Regions from separate parts of the Homo sapiens genome. Here region 1 is linked to region 2. Evidence: promoter capture Hi-C in human tissues and cell types (Jung and others, 2019). All regions are on one chromosome and are shown on one strand. Each heading gives the region's core, a stretch centred on a gene start or on the middle of the fragment in contact. The rest is flanking DNA. Distances are from core to core; before and after follow the strand shown. Region 1 overlaps CTBP2 (C-terminal binding protein 2). Region 2 holds the start of MMP21 (matrix metallopeptidase 21).

What was found. The method cuts DNA at HindIII sites, captures the fragments that hold promoters and counts their contacts. A contact is called where the count stands out against the background at its distance.
Region 1: a contact is called between a fragment that was not itself captured here and the fragment with the promoter of MMP21 in region 2, in 1 of the 25 tissues and cell types used here (IMR-90 fibroblasts).

The regions. Positions count from the first base shown.
Region 1 is chr10:125,077,262-125,080,107 of GRCh38, forward strand. The region is part of intron 2 of CTBP2 (C-terminal binding protein 2); the gene reads right to left. Among named protein-coding and RNA genes, the nearest start is that of MIR4296, 46 kb to the left of the region's middle. RefSeq lists an enhancer at 1,505-2,006. The HindIII fragment of the contact is 4,893 bases long and covers 1-2,846 here.
Region 2 is chr10:125,774,507-125,777,234 of GRCh38, forward strand. It overlaps MMP21 (matrix metallopeptidase 21), which reads right to left and starts at 1,315. Exons shown (of 7, transcript NM_147191.1): 1 at 1,154-1,315. The coding sequence starts at 1,315. The HindIII fragment of the contact is 11,499 bases long and covers 1-2,728 here.

The sequences.
Region 1 (2,846 bases), core at 54-2,553, 700 kb before region 2:
AAAAGCCACATTTTCAAGACACATGTAATGAGATGCAGGGTATAAGACACATTCAGCGTTTCCAGCATGTGTGAGCTGGGGAAGAGTTGGTTTCTGCAGAGTTGGTTTCTGACATCAGCAGGGATAAGGCGGCACCTGTTGGGGATGGAGTGACTCCCTTATCTGTGTTCTTAGAGCAACAGGACTGGAGACGGGGAAGGAAGAACCCCCATCTGGCTCCAAACTCCCCGGGCTCGCAGAAAGGGCTCACTCACCCCCTCACCAGGCCTGGCAGCCAATAGTAATCGGTGTGGTTCATTTTTTGAAGGGATCAAAGAATAAAGCCACATCCAACAGCACATTCTGGAAAGTTCTGGGCTTGGGATTACCAACAAAAAGGGCTCTCTGACACAAACAACTGGGAGCCTGCCTAAAAGAACCCTGAAAACCCAGGTCAGCTGAAGAAATCACCCATGAAAAAGCTGGGGGCACCGTGGTGATGCCCACCCCAGCTGATGCCCACGGGACCCCTGGCCCTCTGCCTCCCGTGTTCAACCTCAGCTCACCTCTCATTTAGTCCAAACGGGGCCACCATTTGGAGTCTGTTCTGTGATTTCAGCACCTGGTATTCAAAGTTATCTTAGGTTGTGGCTTAAGCAGCCAAGTCTGACTTCAGATTCAGCCCTGGGTGGTGCTGATGGGGGGAGGTGGGGGCTGCTCTGACCCCTTCATCACAATTCCCATAAGAACCTTTCTCAGGCCGGGCGCGGTGGCTCACGCCTGTAATCCCAGCACTTTGGGAGGCCAAGACGGGCAGATCACGAGGTCAGGAGATCGACACCATCCTGGCTAACACGGTGAAACCCCGTCTCTACTAAAAATACAAAAAATTAGCCAGGCATGGTGGCAGGCGCCTGTAGTCCCAGTTACTCTGGAGGCTGAGGCAGGAGAATGGCATGAACCTGGCAGGCGGAGCTTGTAGTGAGCCGAGATCGCGCCTCTGCACTCCAGCCTGGGCGACAGAGCGAGACTCCGTCTCAAAAAAAAAAAAAAAAAAAAACCTTTCTCATGGGAGGATGGGCTTGGGCGTTGAGATCAACAGAGGAGGGAGGTTCTAGGACATATTTCCTAGGCGAAGATAGGTCCAAGAAGATTATTTTTGTCTACAGCCTGCTAGAAACAAGGTCTTATCAATTATTATTGATTACAAAGCCACTTCGTCACCTCAAACTGCCTGTTCTGTGGCAACCCCAAGATTGTTCTACTTCCACAGCCTTTTTTTTTTTTTAAACCCAACACACACTGGCCATTTCCTCACAAATTCTACCAGGGTTGACTTCAAAGTGTCGGGGGGAAAGTGCTGTTTTGAGTTGACACGAGGTCACAGACAAGCCAAGCTGCGATGGTTGGGGACAGCTCTGGAGGCGGAGCAATCACCGGATCCTGTAGAGATGGCCAAAGCCAGGAGGACTTCTTCAGATACCTCTAGGGACTCATGACTCTCACCCAGGGCTTAATCTGACCCTTACCAATAATAATGTTCTTTCTTTTTCCTGCTGTGTTTTCCTACCATTCATTACAAATTTTAGACCAATCAAAAAATTTGGAATAACCAGGCCTGGCACGGTGGCTCGTGCTTGTAATCCCAGCATTCTGGGAGGCTGAGGCGGGCAGATCATTTTGGGGTCAGGAGTTCAAGACCAGCCTGGCCAACATGGTGAAACCCTGTCTCTACTAAAAATACAAAAAAAAAAAAACGAGCCGGGCATGGTGACGAGTGCCTGTAATGCCAGCTACTCGGGAGGCTAAGGAACGAGAATTGCTTGAACCCAGGAGGCAAAGGTTGCAGTGAGTCAAGATCATGCCACTGCACTCCTGCCTGGGTGACAGAGTGAGACCTTGTCTCGAGGAAAAAAAAAAAAAAAAAAAAAAGGTGGAAAAACCAGCCCCTGATGGGCCACCAGGAGCTTTCGGGAGCCTGCCCGGGATATCACCCGGCTCCACCATGTGTGACGCTCCTGCTCTAAAGTACACGGAGGACACAGGGCACAGCGCCTTTCACAGCCACTGGCTCACATGCCAGTCCACGGTTCCCAGCGGTGGCGGCATTCCTCTCCAGGGAGGAAAATGCTACAGAATATTCACCACCGGTCAATTCATCTGCCCGGTTGGATCTCCTTCCAAACTTAAAATCTAGGGATTCAGTCCTGCGAATGCCATACTCCGCATTCTCCTTACACAGATTGAGATCAACAGTGGGTTGGTTTCAATAAGATATGAAGAAACAATGAGGCAAGACCATTTTGAAACAGCCCATTATACATACAGAAAATCCAATCAAGCCTTGGCTACAAAAACAGAAGGGTGGGCCGAGCACTAGCATGTCATTAATTATTAATTCTCCTGTAATGTCCCAATATGGACTAAATAACCTATTCCCACAGGAAAATGTATTGTCATTGACAATAGAAGACCAAAATATCTATAATGGTTGCTAATTTGAATAGAATCAGTTCCACGCTTAGGACAAGTGACTATTCCAATGGAGAGTTTATTTACAAGGCATTTTCTCACATGATGCAGGGAGACTGATTTAGAAATTGCAATCCTCTCTCCTGTGATGAAAACCACTTCCACGATTAAGCACTCCATGGAGAAGTACTTACTTACAAGCTTTCCTTTGGATTCTGAATGTTTTCTGCAGATTTTAAACAGAGTCGGCTCACCCTCCATTCCTGGTAACCATGCTAAATGGTTTCGATACTGTACCTGAGCATTTAAGTGATCCTGTCAAATAAAACGTTCCTCCAAGTTAACTCCGCTGTATATTTATGCACTTAATATCACAGCTTACTGCAAAGTGCACA
Region 2 (2,728 bases), core at 65-2,564:
GATGGAGATAGCAATAGAAACAGGAAGACAGAGAGAGATAGAGATACAGAGAGAGCGGCAGTGAGAGACAGAGACAGGAGAGAGGTAGACAGGAGAGAAGGAGCGAGTCCTGGGCGCCTTCCTGAGTGCGGGCCCTGGATGGGCACCAGGCTGAGTCAGAGGCGCCCTAGGGCCGGAGGAGCAGGAGACCTGGGCAGCGGGGTGGGCGAGTGCCGGGAGGAGGTAAGAGGTCGCGGGGGAGGAAGACGCTCCCCCCGGCCTTGCGGGGCAGGTCGCGCAGGGCAGGTCGTGCGGGGCAGGTGGGGGGTGCCAAGGAAGTCCGGGCGTGGCCACACCGCAGAGAAAGCCATGGGAGGCACGTCCTGAGAGCTGGGAATTGGAACTGAGGGGCTTGGCAGTGGTTGGGTCTGAGGACCTGGGGGGCTTCCTCATGGCCGCACAGCGGGAGGGAGGTCAGCGGCCTCCACGCGGCTGCGGGCCTGGCCACAGGGCGGCTCTCCTGCTCCCTGCCCTGGCCTCTGGGGCACTGTGGGAGCTGGGGATTGGACTTGACCCTGAGCATCAGCTCCTGGCCTATGGTGACCAAAGGACCACGTGCCAGAGCAGGTGAAGGGGCCTCATGGGTCCACTCCCTGCCCGCCACCACGACTCTCTGGAGGAGGGGATCGCCTGCATTGGACCTCCTGGGTGCTTCACCACAGACTCCGGTGAAGTCCACGGATGCCACCCCAGACAGCTGTTAGGATCCTTACTATTGCGGTGTTGGGGAACCTTGCAGGGCTGTCCCCTTCTCTACATCCAGAGATTGGCATGGTGAGCAGCCACAGAATGCCTTCGGACAGTGCCTTGGCCACTACAGTATCACATGCTTGCCTTTGGAAAGGCACTTGGCATTTGAGTCTGTTGTCTGCGCACTGACATTTCTTTCTCACTAGGGCTGACCTGTGGGATTGTCGAATCAGGTTAAGCATCGATTCATGGTTGTTCCAATAGGAGCCACAGGAGCCACTCCTCCCTCTCAGCCCAGCCTGCCTGGCCCTTCTCTGCCTCTGCACAGCCGGCATCCTGGCCTGTGCCTGTGCGCGCGTGCGCATGTGCCTGTGTGCACGTGCACGGGCCTGGGGGTATTGCTGTTCTTCCAGCTTCCTCCTACCTGAGCAGCGTGGAGGTCGGCAATGGGCTTGGCCTGGCGCAGTGGGGACGGCTCCAGGTCCGAGCGGTCCCGGCTGTGGAAGAGACTCTCGGGCTGGGTGGGCCAGGGAGCAGCCAGCCAGCAGAGCAGCAGTGTCGGACGGAAGATGGAGGCGGCGAGCATTGGCCTGGTCTGAACCCTTGCCCTCCCTGCCTGGCTTCTTCCCCGTCCCCGTCACCTCTCCTTAAGGAGCAGGACCTAGGGTGGCTTTTATAAGCTACGCAGGAGGGAGCACCCAGGTTTCCAAGCATTTCTCACCCAGCCCTGAAGTGTGCCCGCTAGGAGGCCACGTGGCAGGCCCTGGGCGTGCTGCCTTTGAAGACCCCAGGCTCACCTTTCTTGTTGGTGTGAGAACTCCTTCTCTCAGCCTCCAGAGTTTGCCATGTCCTCCGATAATTACATCCTCCAGTTGCCAGTGCCTGTGGGTTCCATTTCTATGGAGATATACTGCGGGCAAGTTTGCCGCTAAATGAGCTGTGGAATTAACAGAGGCACGAGACTGCGCCCCTAACAACATGCCTCTCAGAGCTGAGCCTGAGTTTAAAAACCCTGACCGTTAGTTTGCTTACAGTTTGGGTCACTTTTTTTTTCTTGGTGAACTGGGGTTTGGAGATTTTTAGTTTGTTTCTCACACATTTTTTGTGTGGCTTTTCTTCTTTTTGTTTATCTTTATATAAAGGAGATCTTCTGAGCAGATAGTATAAATTGTAAAAGTACTGAGAATGAAGGAGACATTCTGTGATTCCGGTGGTGACATTTCAGTGAACATTCTTGCAGATACATATGCACAGATGCCTAGAGAAGTATTTGTGTGTGTCTCTCATTTTACATGAACTCTATTCTCTGTTCTTACAAGCCAGCACAACGTTACAGGCACTTTTCTGTTTCTGAATGTAAGTATTTATCGTTCTAGTTAATGACTGCACAGCGTCCCATTCTGTGGGTAAAGATTTTTATAGAAGGATAAACTAGAATCACCTCAGCCCACTACTTTTTCCCCTCATGGAGAAGCCTCAAGTTTCTTTGGGATCCTGAAGACAGAGCCCCTGAACTGGGCTTTTATCTGAGCAGATGTCCTCCTGAGAGTGCAGACTGACTGGGTCACAGCCGTCCATGGGAATATTGAGAATCATAGAAATACGGAGAGGCCAGGTGCAGTGGCTCAGACCCATAATCCCAGCGTTGCGGGAGGCTGAGGCAGGAGGACTGAGGCCAGGAGTTTGAGACAAGCAAGGGCAACAAAATGAGACCTCATTTCTATCAAAAAATGTTTAAAAATTAGCTTGGCATCGGCCGGGCGTGGTGGCTCACACCTATAATCCCAACACTTTAGGAAACCAAGGTGGGTGGATTGCTTGAATCCAGGAGTTCAAGACCAGCAAGAGTTCAAGACCAGCCTGGGCAACATGATGAAACCCCATCTCTACTAAAAATACAAAAATTAGCCAGGTGTAGTGGCATGCGTGCCAATAGTTCCAGCTACTTAGGGGAGCTGAGGCTGGAGGATCACTTGTGTCCAGGAGGTTAAGACTGAAA